Linked DNA regions of Homo sapiens: region 2 is linked to region 1. The links are contacts of gene promoters, found by promoter capture Hi-C in blood cells and fetal thymus (Javierre and others, 2016). All regions are on one chromosome and are shown on one strand. Each heading gives the region's core, a stretch centred on a gene start or on the middle of the fragment in contact. The rest is flanking DNA. Distances are from core to core; before and after follow the strand shown. Region 1 holds the start of PRB4 (proline rich protein BstNI subfamily 4). Region 2 holds the start of KLRC1 (killer cell lectin like receptor C1).

Region 1 (5,329 bases), core at 1,571-4,070:
GAAATATACATATTAGAGAGCATCAACATCAAATAAAAATATAAAGATGACCATCCTACCAATGTAACCGAAGTTTTTAGAAAAGTCAACACAAATCTGAATTCTCACACACAACTGTATTACCAGAATGGTTGGTTTATGCAATGAACACAGTAAGTTGAGGAAGATTTTGCTTTCTGTTCCATTCACAGAGCTTCCAAGTCTTCAAAAAGAGAGAGATGTGTGAGTGTGAGAGAGCTGAGGCATGAAGTTTGGATCTTATTACAAGTGCAGAAGAAAATCCTAAGAGCATTGGAAGCACAAAAGTGTTATGATCTAATTCCTACTTTTCAATGATCACCCTGACTGATATGAGGGGAATGGATATGGGATGTGCTGGGGTAGGAATGTTACCAAGAGCACTGAGGATATTAAACTTCTTCAGGAGAGAGCATCATGGCCTGAACTATCACCTTCTAGTAAATATTATGCAAGTGGTTGTATTTGGGATGAGTGTTGAAAGTGGAGGAAACTGGATTTGCTAAAGGGCAGTGCCTGAAGGGAGTGAGGAGTTTTGAACCACTGAACACTTGACTTAGAAAAGGTTGGGAGCTGTTATGAGAGCTGAATTGTGTTTCCTAAAATTTCATATGTTGAAGGCTGTTCCTTCAGGACCTGAGAATATGAACATGGATATTAGAAGGCAAGTGGAGTGCTCAGGGCTTCCACTCACGTCTAGGTGCCCAAGTTCCTGCTGCAGTCCTGCTTCTCTCTTCCACCCACCCTCACCCACAGAGAGTGTCCCTTTCCGCATTTCCATCACCTCTTTTTTGTTTTGTCTGGTGAGTGCATAGCTGATATTTATGCTTTCCTGATAAACTTTACTCATTGCTGACATTGGAGAAGGTCAGGAAAGGGCCTGAAATGAGTGATCTTTAGGGGGGTTTTCATTCTCTTCCTGTACCTTCCTGCCAAGGGGAAGTCGGTCTTGCATCAGGCTGCAGCAACCTCAGTTGGTGACAATATCAGGCAATGTCAGCCTGGCCTCTGCTGCTCCTTTTCTCTGACATTCCTTTGTTACCTGATGGTCTAACTTAAGCCACCTAAGCAGGATTGCTCATCTCCAGTTGTATTCCCATTTCAAGTACGTGTATATTTTTGTCAGGGAAAATACCAATCTTCGTGGTTCCCTTGCAAGGGCAAAGTTATCTGTAGCAAAGCCTTTTTTATTAGGAAGTCTGCTTGTACTATTACCTGCAACTCTTCAGAAGGGCCACCCAGATTCTCATCTGCAAAGCCCAGGATCTACTCATCCACAATGTTCAAGAGGCCTGTCTTTAGGATTTACTGTCACATACCCTCTCTACCTCCATCATACCTCCAACCAAGGTGTTCTCAAATTAATACCAGCCATGCACAAAATGTGAACAATTACACAAGACACATGGAAGGTCTAAGTGGTAAATGGCAGCTGTTGATACTGAGTAACCTGTATATTCCATGAACTGATAAGCAGGTATTTATCAGATATAACGAAGAATCAGTAGCTGAAAGAAGTGCTAACAATGCAGGTCTCTGATAGGGCTTTTTGGAAACACAACACGTATTATGAAATTACACAGACAAGAATGAAACAAAGATGGTAAGTACTATATCCTAATACTTAGAAGATTAAATAAAGGAAATCTCACCAAATTCATGGGGAAAAAAGCCAGATACATAAAGAAAAATACACATAATGGGCTTGACTCAGAAAATAAAATATGAACAAAGAAGAACCAGAAAGAAGGTGGGGAGGAATGCATATCAGAATATTATAGAAAAATACTCTTTGTGGAAGAACAATCTGAGAAAACAGGTAACACAAATACTGACTAAACCAAGAATACCAATATAATGCAATTTAGGCTTTAACGAGGGTATCTGATTATCCTATTTGAATGTAGAATTGTAGCCACTTAATTATAAGTGGTAGGAATTCAATACAATTATTAAAAGAAATGAAGCAGAGGGTGAATATTATAGAATATTCTGGACAAAGGGAAGAGCATGAAGGAAGTTTTGGCAACATGATATCGCATGGCTCCCGCAAGGAATTATGTATTCAGTTTTCTCAGATCTAGAAATTTCCTTATGGTTTCTGTGTACATTTTGCATTAATAACCCCTAAAGGTACTTTAAAATACACAATTTTGGCCTTCCTGTGTGGCACAACAACAAGCCTTGCCTGAGCTGAGTCAGATCCACAGAAGCTTGAACAATAGTTGTAGCCCGAGCAGGCTGTGGGGCAGCTTTCTGTCATCTATGTGTGCCCAGGAGTGTGTTGTCTTCACACCATCACACAGGTAACAGAAACCATCTCTATCGCATCAAAACTTTAGCCAATTGTGATACTATCTGTACACACACATCACAAGAGATGGAAATAGGCTCTATAAAGAGCCAGAGAAATTGACCATCTTCACTGCTGGCTGTAGCTTCACTGCCCCCACAAATATTACACAGAAATAAATAGTAGAGTGGAAAGCAGACATAGTCTTACCAAAAGGATTGAAACTCTAATGATGTCTGAAGTTCAATTATGACACAGTGCTGATAGCTTGGACACAGTTCCTTTAGAACCTTTATTCAAGTCATAGTCGTACCTTTTAGAAATAAGGCACAAACAACATCCAACCCACCCCATCCCTCTGGGCTAGAGTCCCAAAGAGAAATAAGGGATACACCTGACCTGCAGTAAGGAAAGCAGAACCCAGTCTCTGAGGTGGTGAGGCCCACCCAGGGCTCAAAGGTGCCATTGTTTTGCTCCTCTTTATAAAGGGAGTTGCCACGTTCCTCCCAGCACAGAGTTGGGAGTGACTCCAGAGCCTCCAGCGAGATGCTGCTGATTCTGCTGTCAGTGGCCCTGCTGGCCCTGAGCTCAGCTGAGAGTTCAAGTGAAGGTAAAACAGAAGGGGGAAAAGATGCGGTGACTGCTTGGGACTTAGGAGGTGACAGTGGTAATTATGGGGAAGAGAGGAGAATGAAAACACAGATGGGGCTGCAGAGTTTTCATGCCTAGGATCAGGAGACCTGTTGTGCCCTCATTCCACAATAAGGACTTCTAATTTATTTAATGTACAATGAAATCCAATAACGAATTTGTTCCAGGGGAATGAGAAGGTAAGATTTGAATTTATAGAGATAGAACTGTGCTGTGAAGGCTGCAGTGGAGAGTGCAAGGCAGATTCAGGGAAGTCCAGCTGTGAAGATCCTATACTGATCCCAGTAAGTACACAGGGATGATGGTGGCCTTGCTGTACAGACAGTCGGCATTGATGATAGAGATACATACACATCAGAGATACTGCAGAGACAGAACTGGATAGAACACTTGTCTCTGTCTAACTAAAGATGTAGAAATATCAGAGCCAATCATTACAATTTTTCTCTCCCCTACATGCAGTATTTCAATGTGCTGGGAGTGGAATGGGTTAGATTGTATTGAAATGATTACTTCTGGTTACCCCTATTGAGAAAACATGTGTATGTATGCAATATATTAACAGGAGATGGAGGGCATAAGAACACCAAAATATCACATTGAAGTACCTGGCATGCATAAACTAAATAAGCATTAAGTCTTGAGGGATGCTAGGGAGGAAAAAAAGGGGCTGTTCTATGTTGAACTCATTGCTGTTGCTCTGTGTGGTAACAACCCTGCCTCCTCTTACACCTTCCACCCCTTCCAGCACCTTCACAGATGGTGGCTGATGAGTTAACCTAGGGGATGCATGGGGTGTGGTGAGAAGACAATTTTCCCTGTAGAACACTTGTGAGTCTTGAAGATTTGAGATGTAACATTTCCCATCATCCTGTGCTTCTCTTCTAGATGTCAGCCAGGAAGAATCTCTCTTCCTAATATCAGGTAAATCCCAATTCATTCTCAATCTGTTTTGACTCCCTTTTTCTGCTTACAAATGGATCATTTCTCCAGTGTCTTCTTATCAACACTTTCCTTTCAGGAATTGATTAATGTTATTGCCCCTAATGATATAGGCAATCTTCATGCAAACTTGATTCTGGGGACCATGAGCAGGCCACCAAATGGAATGTCAGAGATGCTTGGCTTAGATGACAACAGGAGTGGGTTGACATCCCCCTGGCCAGGAGTGCCTCCTGGGAGATGACAGACAAATGGCCAGTGTCCTTATTCTGACTCCTCCTTAGACTGAGAGCCCCTCAACTTCTCCCTTTTCCCCCAGCGTTCCACTCCAGAGTTCTAGGGCTTCACTGAAAATGCAAAGAAATTAGTATCTGGGTCTCATTTTTGTGCATTTCCCCATTTAGCTCCATTACTGTAAAAATTTGTGGCAACTATTCAGTGAATGCCGTATGTCCCCCACCTCCTCCAGGAAAGCCAGAAGGACGACGCCCACAAGGAGGAAACCAGCCCCAACGTCCCCCACCTCCTCCAGGAAAGCCACAAGGACCACCCCCACAAGGAGGAAACCAGTCCCAAGGTCCCCCACCTCCTCCAGGAAAGCCAGAAGGACGACCCCCACAAGGAGGCAACCAGTCCCAAGGTCCCCCACCTCATCCAGGAAAGCCAGAAAGACCACCCCCACAAGGAGGAAACCAGTCCCAAGGTACCCCACCTCCTCCAGGAAAGCCAGAAAGACCACCCCCACAAGGAGGCAACCAGTCCCACCGTCCCCCACCTCCTCCAGGAAAGCCAGAAAGACCACCCCCACAAGGAGGTAACCAGTCCCAAGGTCCCCCACCTCATCCAGGAAAGCCAGAAGGACCACCCCCACAGGAAGGAAACAAGTCCCGAAGTGCCCGATCTCCTCCAGGAAAGCCACAAGGACCACCCCAACAAGAAGGCAACAAGCCTCAAGGTCCCCCACCTCCTGGAAAGCCACAAGGCCCACCCCCAGCAGGAGGCAATCCCCAGCAGCCTCAGGCACCTCCTGCTGGAAAGCCCCAGGGGCCACCTCCACCTCCTCAAGGGGGCAGGCCACCCAGACCTGCCCAGGGACAACAGCCTCCCCAGTAATCTAGGATTCAATGACAGGTATGATTCCACTTTATTATTCATCAGGACTCTAATTGCTACAGTTCTCCAACTTTATTGTGCCAATGAATCAACTAAAACCCATTGACATTGTATTGTCCTAGAACCCATTTCTAAAAATTTGTATTCAGATACTCTGGAATAGGGTAAGGGGACCCTGTATTTCTAACAAAATCTTTAAGGAATTCTGATGTTGAGAAACAACATACCATATGATCTGTCTTAAATTGTGTTGGCAATGAGGAGGTAGTACCATGTTCATTCTTGGCGTTCTGTTTTCTATCCACTAACTCA
Region 2 (5,329 bases), core at 1,309-3,808, 860 kb after region 1:
TAAAACTCTCTATTGACTTATTTATTTCTTTCATTGTGTTCTTCAGCTCCAGAATTTTTGTTTGGTTCTTTTTAATAGTTTATATTTCTTTATTAAATTTTTATTTTGTTCATGTATTTTTTGTTTTAGTTGTATTTTTTGTTTACTCTTTTCTTTTGCATCTCACTGAGATTTTTTAAGATGATTGTTTTGAATTACTTTAAAGGAAACTTATAGATCTCCATTTATTTGGATCAGTTGCTAAAGCTTTATTAGTTTCCTTTGGTGGTGTCATATTTGTCTGATGCTTTGTTATTTGTTTATCCTTGTACTGATGTCTGTGCATTTGAAAGAGCAGACTCTCTTTCAGTCTTTACAGACTGGTTTCGGTAGGTTAAAAGCTTCTCCTGTTAGTGTCCTGGGCTGATGAGATTGCCTTCAGTATCATGGTTGAATGGGGTTACAGCCAGATCACATGGTTGCTTACGGGTCCAGAGTGGGATCTTTGGTTCATGATCCTTTTACTAGGGCTTCTAGCAGGCTTGTATCCTATTTAGTGCCTCAGAGGGCCAAACTGGCTCTAGAATCATACTGTATAGGGCTGGGGAGGGGATGAGGGTCCACTTCAAGGTCTGTAAATGGTGGGTCTATTATTAGGTGTGTAGTTGGGGAAGAGTTTATCTAGTTTGCTGGGAAGGCTGCTCATGGGTCTCTGAGTGGGTTCCTCAACCTGTGGCACAGAGGAGTTAGTGCTAAGTCACAAGGTTTCCTCGGGGTCTATAGCTGAAACCAGTGTCTTCATGTCTGTCTCTGGGGTCATGGTTGAGTGTGTTTTCTGGCAGGTCTGTGGGCAGGCAGATTTGCCTCAGACTGTAGTTGAGTTGGGCTGGAGCTGGATCCAGAATTGTTTCAAGATCTGAAATAAAACTAAGGTCTGTGCCTGCAGGGGCACTAATGATGTCTCTCTCCAGGTCCCTGTATGGGCAAACTGCTCTCTAGCATAGCTGAGAAGTGTCGAAGCCCCTTTTCTGTCCAATTAAAGGATCTGCTGTGAAACCTAGGTCAATGGTCTCCTAGTTGGGACATGGATGCACATGTCCTCCCTCTGTATCCCTGAGCTGGCAAGACTGCTCACAGTCCACAGCTGAGAAGGGTGAAGGTCAAGATTCAAGGCTGTTTCAGAAACTACCGTGGAACTGAAGTCAGCAAGCCTGTACTGCTGACAAAGATGATTGAGTCTCACAGCAATTTCCTGTGATTAACTCAGGTCACAGTTGAGAGGAGTTTGAGTGGAGATTCAGGGCCATTTTAGTATCTTCTGTAGGACAGAGGTCAGCAAGCATGCCCCAGAGGTACAGATGTATATGTCTCCCAGGAAGTCTCTGTGGGTGAAGGACTGATCTCAAGTTGTGGCTGACACTAGTTAAAGCCAAGTTAGAGGGCTGTTTCAGGGTCTACATTGAGACTACAGTTGATATGCCTACCTCCTGAGACACTAGTGTGTGAGTCTCCTCCTGGGCCCCTGGGCAAATGGTTTTGGCAGCATGACCAAGGCCTAAATGGGGCTGAAGGCAAGCACAGGAGGATGGGTCCCTTTTCAGGTCTGGAGATGGAATCACTGTTGGTAAGTCTGCCACTTGGATGCAAATCTATTCCCTAAAACAACCTTCCTAGGTCTTGGGTTCCACTGGCATTTTACAAACTCCTACTTGAATTCCAAACTCCCTCAAAGGAACTTTTGTCTGTGGATGGCTGAAAAATTATTGTTGCTGTGGGGGCATATGTGTGGGGGACCACCTATTCTGCCAATTTACTGACTTTCCTCCTAGTAAGATTTTAAAATTACTTTTTCCCCATACATAGTTTGACTTCAGTTTTTGTCATTTACAACTAAATATTTCTATGAAAGTCGACATAATTTGTTATGGCGGAGGATGAATAAATGAAGAATGTAATGAATAGCTATTTAATATTTCAATTTCTGGTATGCTAATATATTTCAAAATTGATTAATATTTTACCTATCCAAGATATTTTTATCAAGGGTAATCTGAAGATTAAATAATCTATTTTTAAAAATTAAGTGCAAAAATTTAAGAACTAAGAGAAGTTAATAATATAACTTTGGCAATGATGCTTTTTGTGCCAGCTACAATCAATTGAGTAATTACTGCAGTAATTTTTCAGAATAATTAAGGAAAAAATCAGTAGATATCAGTTGATAATATTACTATGAGTTTTAGAATGTTTTCTATTATAATGGAAGTGACATAATAAAATAATATAAAGAAAAGAAGTATGCAATGTTAAGATTTAGCAACCTAGTCTAAAAGGCACTCTTAACAAGGTGAGGGTTGACAATGTTCGTGATCAAGACAGAAAAAAAAAAAATTCTCATAGGCACTTGAAAAATGAACCAACTAAATGACACACTTTCAAAGTCAACCTTGTACTTTTAATAGACCAAGTATCCTATATTTTGGAGGTGTGTGATGAGATAAAACTGATTTCACAATAGCCCATGTGTAGAATTTCCTGTTCAAACCTTAGTAACACGTTGATGAGAAATCTACTTTTTCCACTCTTGACTCACTCTGAGCCTTCACAGGGCAGTCTGCGAAGATTGCAGGCATTGTTTGTTCTTGTCTTGGATTTATGCCTTTAAATTTCACCTTTTATTACACAGCTATAGCAGGCCTTTTTATGAGACTAACCTGGCCTCTCCACTAAAGGATGTGTGACTTTCTGGGGACAGAAGGTATGTATTGCTACTCTCCAACTCTCTACTAGCCTACCTCATTTAGTGGGTGATTTCAAGTGCTCAATATGATACAAAGGAGGTATAATTAATATACAATAAAATCAAAGTAGAATATTGCTGTCTTCATTTGAATAACTCAGGGTAAAAACCTAAAATATGAAATATGTTGAAGGATTTCTTAAAGTTTTCAAATTATTGTTTGTGGAAATCTAGTGGGTTTGTTGATCAATATCGTTTAAGGGAAAGCTATTAACATCACAATAATGAACAATTAATTTTGTATTTTGTAATCAGTACATCATGTATCTTTGAATAATAATTTATATTTAGCTTAGCCATTAAAGATTATTAAAATAAATCAATCAATTGATGAAAGCCAAATACAATTCCTCAGACACGTAGATTAGAGAAAAGCAGTTTTTATTTTTAATAAAAATCAGAATGAGGTAGATTACATAAAATGCTAAAGGTATTACAAAGCAATAAAAATACTTTTTAAAAATTGATCAAAATATTGCAAAAAAAGATGTAGCGCATGGACATAGGAGACTTATCTGAAGATTTATTTTCCATGCTTTAACTGACATGAATCAGAAACAGTAACATAACAATTGTGACTAAAATAATAATTAAAGTAGCTAATGCTTATTGAGAACTTTAAGTGCCAGGTTGAGTGGTAAATGTTTTACATGCAACGTTTTATATGTTCTTATGCCCATTTTAGATTAACAAACTGGGTTATTAAAAATAGAATAACTTTTTAAAGGTCGCACATTATAAGTGTCAAAGCTAGAATTAATTCTAGATCTCACTGACTCCAGAGCCCATTGACTAAATGATTTAATTACATTATCTGAAATTTTACAAGTACTTATACAACTAAAGTGGCCTTTACTCACTTTGACAACCATAAAATCATTCTATAAGTTTAAATGAAATGTGCTTTAACATGAATTACCTATACTTTTATTTATCATTTTTTGGTTCATAATTTAGCCAGGAAATAAATTACCAATTACTAATTAAATTACCAATACTTCTGTAAGTATTAACAATTTATGTAGTGTTCCTAATACTATTTAGGTTATGCATAAGTTAACTGTGTCACATAGCATTTTCTGTCATATACAAATATTTAATTTTTTATAATTTTTAATAAATAATTTTTAATAATTTCTTAGAACATTTCAGCCATTAAGAAAAGACCATTTAATTACCTCTATTGATTTTCATTAATGTGTATAAATTACTAATTAAAAGTAATGTAGTGCAAGAAATTTTTATATATATATATGTCAACTTTACTATTACTCATGTGCAGACCACATAGTCTTAACCATTACTGGATTTCAAAATTAACATAAAAATGAGTGCAGAAGTTTTTCTAATACAACATTTTAATTTTTAACACAGGTAAAACATCAGACTTTAAGAAATATATTTTTATTCCTGAACTTCTTTATTCCTTAGTAATTTATTGCTTCTCATTGCCCCAGCAATAATATTTTGTCAAATGCAGAAAATTTATCTTTTTTTTTTGAGTCGGAGTCTCACTCTGTCGCCCAGGCTGGAGTGCAGTGGCACAATCTCCGCTCACTGCAACCTCTGCCGCCCATGTTCAAGAGATTCTCCTGCCTCAGCCTCCCGAGTAGCTAGGACTACAGGCGCCTGACATCATGCCCGACTACTTTTTGTATTTTTAGTAGAGACGGAGTTTCACCGTGTTAGCCAGGATGGTCTCGATCTCCTGACCTCGTGATCGGCATGCCTCGGCCTCCCAAAGTGCTGGGATTACAGGCGTGAGCCACCGCGCCCGGCCTAAAAATCTTTTTTTAAAACAAATATTCATAAGAAACGTGTTTAGGCTTGAAGAAAATCAGAGAAAGAACTTTAGATTATTTAATGCAAAATGAGCTCCAATACTCGTTCTCCACCTCACCCTTTTAATTGCACTAGGGAATCCTGTATATAAACCATTTATTAACTTCTTAACTACTGTTATTATAGAGTACAGTCCCTGACATCACACACTGCAGAGATGGATAACCAAGGAGTAATCTACTCAGACCTGAATCTGCCCCCAAACCCAAAGAGGCAGCAACGAAAACCTAAAGGCAATAAAAACTCCATTTTAGCAACTGAACAGGAAATAACCTATGCGGAATTAAACCTTCAAAAAGCTTCTCAGGATTTTCAAGGGAATGACAAAACCTATCACTGCAAAGGTAAAGCATTTAAAAGATCCTCAATATAACAGTCTAGGATGTGCAGCTTGGGGTACAGGAATGTGGGGAAAGAGAAGGGAGTGCTCATATATCTTCTATTTGCAAAGATCAGAATTCCAAGTTGAGATATGCTATTTCAATGTAAAGTATGAAGACTGATTGAACTCATTGTTGAAGTTTGTAGTCTTTGTCAAATAATTCATGGAGCATTATTTTTCCTGAAAATTCAATGGTATATTATTCTGAGAAAAAGATTACAATGGGAGATGAGGGTTTGGGGTCCAAGTTTCTCTGTATGATTCCTGTGCATTCAGGTTCTCTTGTCTGTGAATCTTCTAAACGACTGTATCCACCTCTCCTTTCG

The links. The method cuts DNA at HindIII sites, captures the fragments that hold promoters and counts their contacts. A CHiCAGO score of 5 or more calls a contact.
Region 2: the fragment with the promoter of KLRC1 here is called in contact with the fragment with the promoter of PRB4 in region 1 in 9 of 17 cell types (M1 macrophages, M0 macrophages, erythroblasts and 6 more); the score reaches 9.3 in M1 macrophages.

The regions. Positions count from the first base shown.
Region 1 is chr12:11,307,927-11,313,255 of GRCh38, reverse strand. PRB4 (proline rich protein BstNI subfamily 4) reads left to right here and starts at 2,820. Exons shown (of 4, transcript NM_002723.6): 1 at 2,820-2,921; 2 at 3,851-3,886; 3 at 4,374-5,035. The coding sequence starts at 2,858. The coding sequence ends at 5,017. The HindIII fragment of the contact is 5,809 bases long and covers 2,234-5,329 here.
Region 2 is chr12:10,450,606-10,455,934 of GRCh38, reverse strand. KLRC1 (killer cell lectin like receptor C1) reads left to right here and starts at 2,558. Exons shown (of 7, transcript NM_002259.5): 1 at 2,558-2,737; 2 at 4,748-4,965. The coding sequence starts at 4,779. The HindIII fragment of the contact is 4,540 bases long and covers 383-4,922 here.